3 separate regions of the Homo sapiens genome follow, and regions 2 and 3 are each linked to region 1. Evidence: promoter capture Hi-C in 16 types of primary human blood cells and fetal thymus (Javierre and others, 2016). All regions are on one chromosome and are shown on one strand. Each heading gives the region's core, a stretch centred on a gene start or on the middle of the fragment in contact. The rest is flanking DNA. Distances are from core to core; before and after follow the strand shown. Region 1 holds the start of RIPPLY1 (ripply transcriptional repressor 1). Region 2 overlaps MID2 (midline 2). Region 3 overlaps MID2 (midline 2).

Evidence for each region. Contacts are between HindIII fragments. The CHiCAGO score rates a contact against its expected background, and 5 or more counts as called.
Region 2: a fragment that was not itself captured here is called in contact with the fragment with the promoter of RIPPLY1 in region 1 in 1 of 17 cell types (naive B cells); the score reaches 5.7 in naive B cells.
Region 3: a fragment that was not itself captured here is called in contact with the fragment with the promoter of RIPPLY1 in region 1 in 6 of 17 cell types (naive B cells, naive CD4 T cells, monocytes and 3 more); the score reaches 7.1 in naive B cells.

Annotation. Positions count from the first base shown.
Region 1 is chrX:106,901,837-106,905,350 of GRCh38, forward strand. RIPPLY1 (ripply transcriptional repressor 1) reads right to left here and starts at 1,505. Exons shown (of 4, transcript NM_138382.3): 1 at 1,297-1,505; 2 at 304-379. The coding sequence starts at 1,451. It also overlaps a transcript of CLDN2 not described here. The HindIII fragment of the contact is 2,011 bases long and covers 460-2,470 here.
Region 2 is chrX:107,927,222-107,930,735 of GRCh38, forward strand. It overlaps MID2 (midline 2), which reads left to right. Exons shown (of 10, transcript NM_012216.4): 10 at 1-3,514. The region is part of intron 3 of LOC101928335 (a long non-coding RNA gene); the gene reads right to left. Among named protein-coding and RNA genes, the nearest start is that of TEX13B, 53 kb to the right of the region's middle. The HindIII fragment of the contact is 3,033 bases long and covers 6-3,038 here.
Region 3 is chrX:107,908,125-107,911,638 of GRCh38, forward strand. All of the region lies in intron 5 of MID2 (midline 2), which reads left to right. All of the region lies in intron 3 of LOC101928335 (a long non-coding RNA gene), which reads right to left. Among named protein-coding and RNA genes, the nearest start is that of TEX13B, 72 kb to the right of the region's middle. The HindIII fragment of the contact is 231 bases long and covers 1,503-1,733 here.

The DNA.
Region 1 (3,514 bases), core at 255-2,754:
GGGTGGGAGAGCACTGGAGTAAGGTGCCAGGAGACGAGGCCTCAAGCACCAGCACTGCCACACACTGGCTGTGGGGCCTGCCCAGATCCCTTGCCCACTCTGAGCTTTGGTCTCCTCATCTTTCCAATTGCCACAGAAAGCTTGGATCTGCTCTCTGTTGGAATCAAATGTTGGCAAAACTGTGAGGATGCTATCTCAGATCTGCACCTTTGGACTGAGGTCAGGGGCTCTCTGGGAAGTGACCTGGTCACTGTTAATGCATGTGGCTGCATGTGAACACACGTCACAAGGGCTCGAACTCACCAAATCCACCAGCTTCCTCATCTGCCTTGGGGAGTCATTTGTGGAAGACAGCCAGGGCCTCCAGAGACAAGTTCCTCTGGGACAAAGAGGAGAGATCAATCCGTAGAGGAAGAGACTGAAAGGTGGGCTCCCTGAGATAACAAGAGACCTCCCAAAAGCTTGGCTCAGGTGCCATCTGCTCCAGGAAGCCTTTCCTAAGGCTCCTGAGCCCATTCCAGGACAGATGTCCCTCCTCTCGGCTTCAGCAATGTTATTATTGCTTTTATCATGCTGTTTTGTAATTGTCTATTTACTTGTCTTTGGGCTTCTTAAGCTCAAAGATATGCTCAATCGTATCTGAATCCTCAACACCTAGTACAATGTCTGGTACACAGTAGCTGTTTCAGTAAATGTTTGTTGAAGACTAAATGTTTGGAGTAATGAGTGGGGGCTAGATGGAAAATATCTTGCCTCCTACTTCCTGCTCCAAGATGTAGAACTCAGAGCTCTACCATCTTCCTGGGCTGAAGAAGAGGGCCAGAAATGTTCCTGGGTCCACTGCTTCCCCACTGGACTTGCAGAGGTAGGAAAAAAGCAAATGGAAATCTTATGGCGTGGTCAGGAAAAAGACAATGTCCCAGTCAAGGGCCTCTTTAGACTTTGGTCCTCTTTCCCCAAACTCCCCACCCCCACAGTCTAGATTGTGTTAAGCCCAGGTTTCATGGCAGTTCCCCATCCCCCTCAGGGGACTCAGCCACCTGGCCTATGAGGACCTGGCTGCTTCACCTTCAGCTTTGGCAACAGCTGTCCCCAAGTCCCCTCTTGCCACCCAGCGGGATTAGTGAGGTGAAAAGTCAGATGAGATATTCCAGCTAGAGTTGAGGAGGGAGGGCTATGAGGCCATTGCTTTTCCCCTTCACAGAGAACAGGGTGCCCTGGACATCTCATTTTCCTTCCTCTCTCAGGAAGCTCTCAAGCCTAAGTTCAGGTTGCCAAAGGCTAAGCTCAACTTACCTTTCACTCCCATTTACTTCTTGTCCAGAGGAGAGAAGGCAAGATGGGCTTAACAGGCCAGGGAGTGCCAGTGGGGCTTGTGCTAGGTCTGGAGCTAGGGCCAAAGCCAGGGCTGGAACAGGGGTGGCAGCAGCAGCACAGGCAGCAGAGTCCATTCTTAGGGGACCAAAGCCAGTGGGGTCTCCTACTTCCCAGAACCTTCTGCACTCTTTTGGCTTTTCCTGGGAGACCCTTTTATAAGCCCTGCCTGGTCTTATAAATTATTCAGGGAGGACAGGGGTGGGATGACTTGGGAGGGGGATAAAGATTTAGGGAAGGGGCTCAGGGAGGGAAAGCTGGGTTACCTGGGTGTGAAATCTCTCCCAGTTGAATAAACATGGTGTCAGTGGGAGGTGAGGGATTTGCTTTGCCTCCAAGTCAGAAAGAAAAACACAGAAGGGGCAAATCGCACACCATTTGTGTGAATTCCCCAGGGAGTAGCAAGGCCTGAGAGGGGAAGGAGAGGAGCTCATTAGCACTCTGAAACCACAGAGATGTCAGGGACAGAGGGCTGAATAGACAGGCCTTTAACTAAGCCAGTTCCTGGCAAGAAGAGACAGCTGACCCCTTTAAGGAGAGTGAGGGACTCACTTGTTATTTCAGCTCAACCTCAGATAGATTTGCCAGGTGGACCTGAATGTAGGGTGACTGCCATTAAGCATATCATCTGGGTTAGGGAAAAAAGGGGCATTCTGGGCAGAGCAGGCCCAGATGCTTGTTGGGTAAACCTTAAGTCTTCTTTCAATGCCCCTCAGCCCCTTACTGATCAGTTCATTTGTCAAAGTGCCCCCTCCAGCCTCAGCAGTAAGTGGTCCAGTGAAGGAGAGCAGGCAGGATTTCACAGGGCCTCTGGGTGAGATTCCAAACCTCAGAGCTTAGCTTCCAGTTCAGAAGCCAGGGTGCTGGGGAGAGGCAAAGTTCTGCCCGACTACAGAGCTGCCGAAGGACCAGCCCCAGCCCCAGGCCTCAGTTCCCTCATGTAAGAGATGAGGGTGCTGGCCCAGTGGTCTCATAGGACCATGCCAGCCTGAACACTCTCTGACAGGGGCTACATAAATGGGTACTGAACCCGGGCAAGCCCAGAGGCCTGAGCACAGTCCTCGGCCTTAGCCAGCCTTCTGGGCCTTTGCCAGAAAGCTTCTAGTTACAACTACTGGCAGGGACCTTATGCTTCAGAGGTCTCGAAAATATTCCTCCTGACCTCAGTGTCCAGCCCCAGCACAGATTTAGCTTCTTGGATGTTCATCACAGTCTGGTTTGTAATGGTCAAAAATTAGAAACAACTTCAATGTCCAATAATAGGAAACCAGTTACATTAATTAGGGCAAATCCTTGCAACTGAATGCCAAGCAGGTGCTCACAATCATGTTCTGGGAAGTATAATTTTTCAACACAGAAAATGGAAAAAAAAATCAGATGGTAAGATAGCATGACTAATTTAAGGGCTCCTCATTTCTCTGTTCACCTACCCCCCATCTTCACCCCACTTCCAATTCTAGTCCCACTATGTTCTTTTCAGCAAAGGAAAATTGAAAACAACTTTTAAAAGCTGGTTAGATAAATCATTGGGCAGTTACACAATTTCATATTAAAATTGGCATGGTAGAAGAATGAGGGAAAAGTTAACATATTGAAAGAGTGAAAACAAAATAAGTCTCTAAAATATTACTTAAAGGATGATCCCATTTTGGTAAGAAAAAAGATGTAGAATGGACAGCGTGCAGAGAAAAAATAAGACTGGTGAGAAGAAAGAGTGTTAGGGTTGTCATTTCTGGGAGTAACAGTGGGGTGGATTTTTACTTTATGTTTTTCTGAATTTTCTAAAAAGTTCCACAATGAACTGATATTATTTGAGTAATAAAAAGGAAAGGCACAAAAAATAAAAATAAACCAACAAAGAAATGTTTATCCATGGAGGAACGAAAGCTGGGGGAAATGACAGATATTTTCAAATATCTGAGGATTAGACTGCAATGAGATTACACTTGTTCTGGGTGACTTCAAAGGGCAGGGCTGAGGCCCATGGCTGGAAGCTACATGGAGACACATTTTGGCTCAATCAAAGGAAAACTTTCTAACAGCTCAGTCACCACCTAACCCAAGGGCCTGGCACGGTCCCGGCCCTCAATAAACAGAGGTTTATTATATGAGGTGAAATGAGTTCAGTGAAATGTGCTGC
Region 2 (3,514 bases), core at 272-2,771, 1.0 Mb after region 1:
ATTAAAGCTTGTATTTGAATTAATTTATTGAGTTTTTCAGAACAAATTATCTGAGTAGTCTGCGTTCAAGCCATTGGAGAAAAATTTAGAAAATGCCTCTGTTGTCATTGGAGAATTAAAAATTCCCAATGATTTAAGAATATAAATTATATTGGAAGCAATTAGGGTAATTCTAGTTAAATAATGTGGAAAGGTGCCCTGAATAAGGAGCTAGCAAGCCAGAGCGGGGGGTGGTCAGCCTTTCTAGTACTGGCCAGTTTGGCCATGTAGAATTTTGAACAGTGTCAAATTATCACATATTATATTTTACTTTTGATGAAAACCTATCATCAAGGGTTTGTTAGGAAACCATGAATGTGTATATGTAATATATAAAGTGAACATATATGTACTTTATATATATTCACTTGTGTATGTATGTTTATGCATATTCACTTTATATATTACATATACACAAAAAACTTTTTTTTCCAAACACCACCTCGAACTAGAACAAAAAACTTTTTAATTTGCTAATTTGAGTGAGAAATATACTGGAAGGGAAAATAAGTTACACCATCCATTTTTGTCCCCTAAAGGAAACATCAAAATCAATCAACATTTATTTCCTCCCTCTATCCATCATTGCCTTCCTCCCTCCTGTCACGCACACATACACATGCAACCATGACACAGATAATGGGAAGAGCTTTATTGGATTAGCAGAGATTTACAGACAAGATTGCACAAGAGATGCTGTTGCTGGATAGAAAATTGATCAGGTAGAAGTGATGCTACCTACTTGAGGATGGCCATCTGAATTGTTAAAAATTCTGTCATAGACTATTAAAAAAAAAGTTTTACTACTCCCAAGTACACACAGTTATGAGAATTAGGCTTTTAAAAAGTTGCACAGTGAAGGCTCTTTAGGAACCTACTTTACTTAATCAGTAAAAATTGAGTATTATTGATGCACCAACTATTCCCATATAAATGTACTTGCTTTTTCAGATAAAACACTTCTGAAGTGCTCAAGAATGTCTGAAAACAGTTTGTTTTCTTAAATAGGATAAATAATCATTCCTTTTGCAATCTTGTTTACAGTATTCATTCTCTTAGCCAATCCCTCCACGCAAATGGAGACAAACTTCATCCCAGTCCTAACCAGTATAGTTGAAGGGAATGGAGCCTTGTAGTCTATGATTTTTTTTTTTAAATTTCCATCGAAGGGATTGGGGATGTCAGAGAGCCAGAGCTTTCCCCTTTCCAGGAGCTAAGTTGGCTTCGGAAGTCTTCTGGGATTTGTGAAAATATTACTGTTGTAAAATTACAAAGTGGTAGCCATAACAACTCCCTCAGATTGGAGACTTGAAATGTCAAAACTCCCCTCTTCCTTTCCCCTAGTTTGGTGGATGCTCATTTATTAATTCATTCAATAAACTATTAGATGCCAGGTACCAAACTACTGCCATGGGAGTGCACATATTAACAAAATGCTCTACCTGCTGCCAAATGGCTTACTATTCTGTGGAAGAAACAAAGTATATAATCCTCCCCAATAACAGTTATGTATTGTTTGTTCACTTAATGTGGAAGGCAAGACTGATGCAGACACACAAGGAAGGCTCAAAAATATAAATCTAGCAGCAATGTCATCTTTTTTGATTTTAAATACCATATGTGCTTACTGCTAATCAGGAAATGAACAACCTCAGTAAAATTCATCAGTGCTGGTAAATAGTTTGCTGTAGTGGAAAGCTCATAACCTTTGGATTCAAATGATCCTAGTTTCTGTACCATTTATTAGCGTTGTGACCTAGGACAAGTACCTCACTTCTCTGAGCCTGTTTCCTCCTCTGTAAAATAATGTCTACTTCACAAGGCTGTTTCAAAGGTTAAAAAAGATAGCATATGTAAACTGTCTTAGCTCAGCGCTTGACATTTCCTAAGTGTGCCATAAATATTAATCTCTTTCCTTACTCCCAGCTCCAATACAGCGTAACAGTGCTTTAAAATGTATGTCCTTCATTTCTCCTTCATTTCTCAGTCACCTTTGTCTCTTCCCTAGGGCATATCCCCAAATTCTTAAACAAAAAAAAATGATTTTTTTCCCCTTCATCAAACTTTTCACTGGCTCCCTTAGCACCCAGTAGAAGGTCCCAACTCCTTACAGAGTCTGGGTTTTCATGTCCCTGTTTGCTTACACAGCTTAATCTTTTGCCACTTTCCCCCTCACATTGATTAAGGTAGCCAAGTTTAACTATTTACACAACTATTCACACAAGTTATTCTCTGGGCCTGCAGCAGAAACATGATTAACAATTTTAATGCCCAGAGTAAACAACAGAAATTTTTCTTAAATTAAAGGAATAGTGTGAAAATGCTGTAAGTACAGAAAATGCAACCTCCATTCCAGTAGAACAATTTCCTTTGCCTTGTCCTTGGCTCTCCAAAACTGTTCATTTATTGTGGTGTCTTTTAGATTTTAGTGCCCTGGGACAAAGATCTAATTTCCCCACCCTACTTTTGACTCTATCCTGGACTACCTTTCCTCACCTCTATCTCTCTCAACCAGACTAACTCTTTATTCCTTAGACTTGATGATGCATCCCTCTTTAGAGATCCAAAGACACCCCAAGCATCCCCCTCTCTCAGCAATAATCACATTGTATAGCAGTGTTTTTCAAAGTGTGGTCCTCACACCGCCTGTGTTAGAATCACCTTTAGTGTTTGTTAAAAGAATTGATTTTGGGTTCCCACTCCTGACCTAACCAGAATATCTGAGAACATAGGCAGGAATTTACATTTTTGACAAGCTCCTCATGATTCTGATGCACCAAAAATTTTAATGAATAATCATCTTCCCTACTAGACTGAACACCTTGAGAGGAAGGACTGTGTCTTTTATTGTTGTTATATTGTTAATACCTGGCACAGTGCTTGGAACATTAGCTTGGCTAATGTTTATTGAATGAATGTATGAATGAAAAAATGCATTATGAAAGTTTCCTCTTGTACTCTCATGTTCGTAGTGATGTTTGTTACTTCCTGGGCAGAAAAGCTTGGTTACTACTCCATTTGAGCTGTATTAATTCTATTTTGCAGAGATATCAAGGCTCCTACATAATAAATGATCATTGTCCTCCTCAAAAACTCTTTGGCAGTTATCTTGGGGAAATGTCTTTGGAGCATATGGCACCATTGTTTTCAGTAACATTTCAGTCTTGTCAAACTTTGTTGTTTGAAGGTGGATTTACATTTCGGTTATAGCCAAAAATCACTCAAAGCTAAGCCTACTTAAAAAAGTGGGGAATTAAACTGGGTTTGGAGTAAGCAATGAAGTTTGACTCTGAAGTCCCAAATTCTGAGTCAAACAGTGAAAAATGACTTCTAAGATACAACATGGTGACAAAGTACTTAGTGGGGGTGCGATGGGCCCCAGATATTTACTTCAGTTAACTTGGCTTTTATAGAATCCTGGCAATGCCATGGACCTTAAGAGAAGTAATTGGCTACCTCTAGCTAAACCCAGCTG
Region 3 (3,514 bases), core at 368-2,867, 1.0 Mb after region 1:
ATTTCAGCTCTATCAGATGTTTTTATTGGCATGACCTTACATTTCTAAATAACATCCTTACATTGGTAGTTTTAATTTTTTTCAACTTTAGACAGTATCAATTAACTTCTGCAAATTTGGACTTTTTTTCTGCCACTACTTCTACAAATATTTTTATGCCACTTCCTTCCTCTCTATTCGGGATTCCAATTACATGTATATTTGGCTGTCTGAAATTGTCCTATAGCTTACCAATGCTCTATTTTTGTTTTGCAGTCTTTTTATTTTTTTGCCATTGTGAAAACACATGCAAGTGTGTTTCATTTTGGATAGCTTCTATTGATATATCTTCAAGTTCACTAGCCTTTTCTTCTGTGATACCTAATCTGCTGTTAACCCCTCCAGTGTATTTTTTATCTTAGATATTATAACTTTCATCTCTAGTTTGATTTGGGTCTTTTAAAAAATGTCTTCCATATCTCAAGATATTCAGGCTGGGTGTGGTGGCTCACACCTTTAATCACAGCACTCTGGGAGGCTGAGGTGGGAAGATCACTTGAGACCAGCCTGGGCAACATAGCGAGATTCCATCTAAAAAAAAAAAAAAAAAAGCCTGCATCTGGTGACATGTGCCTGTAGTCCTAGCTACTTGGGAGGCTGAAGCAAGAGGATCTTCTGAGCCCAGGAGTTCAAGGGTACAGTGGGTCACGATGCTGCCACTGCACTCCAGCCTGGGCAACAGGACAATGTCTTGTCTCTGAAAACAAAAAAAGATATTTAGCCTTTCCTCTAGCTTTCTGAACATATGGAATACAGTTAAAATAATTGCTTTTATGTCCTTGCTTGCTAATTCTAATACCTGTGTCATATCTGGGTCCGTTTCAATTGGTTGCCTTTTCTTCTCATTATGGATTGTATTTTCTTGATTTTTTGCCTATCAGGTAATTTTTTACTGGATATCAGACTTGTTAATTTTCTCTTTCGGGATGCTGTATATTTTTGTATTCCTATAAATATTCTTAAACTTTGTTCTGAGACACAGTTAAGTTACTTGAAAACAGCTTGATCCTTTCAAGTCTTGGTTTTCAGATTTGATAGGTGAGATCAGAGCAATGTTTAGTCTAGAGACAATTTTTCTCCACTACTGAGGCAAAACCCTTCTGAGTACTCTATTCCAGTGTCCTGTGAGTCATGAGATTTTCCAGTTTAGCTGGTAGGAACACACACTATTGCTAGACCTATGTGAGTACCAGGGATTGTTCCCTCTTATCTTTTTGGGTGGCTCTTTCCCCAGCATTATGCAGTTTCCTCGCATGCATTTGTTGATCAGTATTCTGTTGACTACTAGAGGGAAACTCTGAAGGTCTCTAGAATTCTCTCTGCAGCTTTTTCCTCTCTGGTACTATGTCCTGTGAACTCCAGCCAACTTCGTCCACTTGGATTCTCAGCTCTGTCTCCTTAATTTTAGGGAACTCATTGGGCTCTGCCTGGATTTCCCCTTCCTGTACCACTTGATTCCCTTAAGCTTTTCAAACAAACGCTCCTGTAGTTTCTTAAGAAAGAGTACATGGGAAGTAAATTTTCAAGAACTTTTTGCCTAAAAATATTTCAAGTTAATTTTCACACTTGATAGGTTGGAAATAAATTTTGAAGGCATGACTTCATTGTCTCCTGGCTTCCATTATTGTGTTGAGACGTTCACTGCCGTTTTGAATCCAGATCTTTTGAATATAACCTATGTTTTAAAATCCAGAAGCTTAAACAAAAGTTAATATTACTTTTAATTGACAAATCATAGTTGTATACATTAATGGGTTGCAATGTGATGTTTTCATATATGCATACAATGTGGAATGACTAATCAAAGCCAATTAACATATCCATTACCTCACCATTTTTTGTGGTCAGCCATTGAGATTTACTCTTTTAGCTATTTTGAAACATACAATATGTTATTATTGATTATATTCACACTGCTGCACAACAGATCTCAGAAACTTATTCCTCCTGTCTAACTGAAACTTTATACCCTTTGTCCAACAACTCCCCATTCCCTCCTCATACCAGCCTCTAGTAACCACCATTCTACTCTCTATTTCTATGAGTTTGATTTTTTCAGATTCCACCTATGTGCGAGATCATATGGTATTTGTCTTTCTGTGCCTGGCTTATTTTACTTAGCATACATCCTCCAGGTTCATTTATGCTGTCAAGGATAACAGGATTTCCTCCAACTTCAGTGGCTGAAAGGTATTACATTATGTATCTATACCACATTTTCTTTATCCATTCATCCATTGATAGAAACTTAGGTAGATACCATATCTTGGCTATTCTGAATAATGCTTCAGTGAACATGGGAATGCAGATATTTCTTTGACATATTGATTTCAACTTCTTTGGATATATACTGACTAGTGGGATTGCTGGATCCTACAGTAGTTCTATTTTTAGTTTTTTGAGGAACCTCCATACTGTTTTTTATAATGGCTGTACTAATTTATATTCCCACCAACAATGTATAAGGGTTCCCTTTTCTCTACATCCTCACCAGCACTTATCCTTCCTCCTTTTAATAATAGCCATTACGATCTAGAAGTTTTAAAGATCTTATCTTTAACCCAGTTTTTCTGAAATTTCATCAAGATTTGCCTCTGTTATAGATTTTCCTTTCCTTTCCTTTCCTTTCCTTTCCTTTCCTTTCCTTTCCTTTCCTTTCCTTTCCTTTCCTTTCCCTCTCTCTTTCTCCCTCTCTCTCTCTTTCCTTCTTTCTTTCTTCTTGTTCTGTTGCCCAGGCTGGAGTGCAGTGGCACGATCTCAGCTCACTGCAATCTCTGCCTCCCAGATTCAAGTGATTCTTCTGCCTCAGCCTCCCTGGTAGCTGGGACTACAGGCTCACGCCATTACGCCCGGCTAATTTTGGTATTTTTAGTAGAGATGTGGTTTCACCATGTTGGCCAGGGTGGTCTCGAACTCCTGATCTCCAGTGATCTGCCCACCTTGGCCTCCCAAAGTGCTGAGATTACAGGTGTGAGCCACCGTGTCTGGCGCGTTGTGGACTTTTTGTCATTCATTTTTCCTGGGCACTCAGTGAATCTTTCTAATCTAAAGACTGGTGACCTCTAGCTCTGGGAAATGTTCTTGTATTATTTGCTAATAATTTCCTCCCCTTTATTCTTTCTCTTCTTTGTTTATGGGACTTTGATTAGTGAACTGTTGGACATCCTAGACTTTTTTTCTCTAATTTTATCTTTTCCATTTTCCATGACTTTGTCTTCTTATTTTACTAAGATACTTCCTTAATTTTTCATTAAATCCTTCTATTGAAATTTTAATTTCAGCATTCCTAATTTTATTCACAAGAGCTCATCCTTCACCTTGTTTCTTTTTTAGCATTCTGTTTTTGCTTTGTGGATACGAACTATTTGGTTTTCTTCTTGAGAATATTGTCATTTTTAAAAGTTTGCTTCTAAACCCTGCATTGTCTGGGTTTCCTCCCAGTTCCTTTTCTCTGTTAGTTTAAATTGCTGTCTTT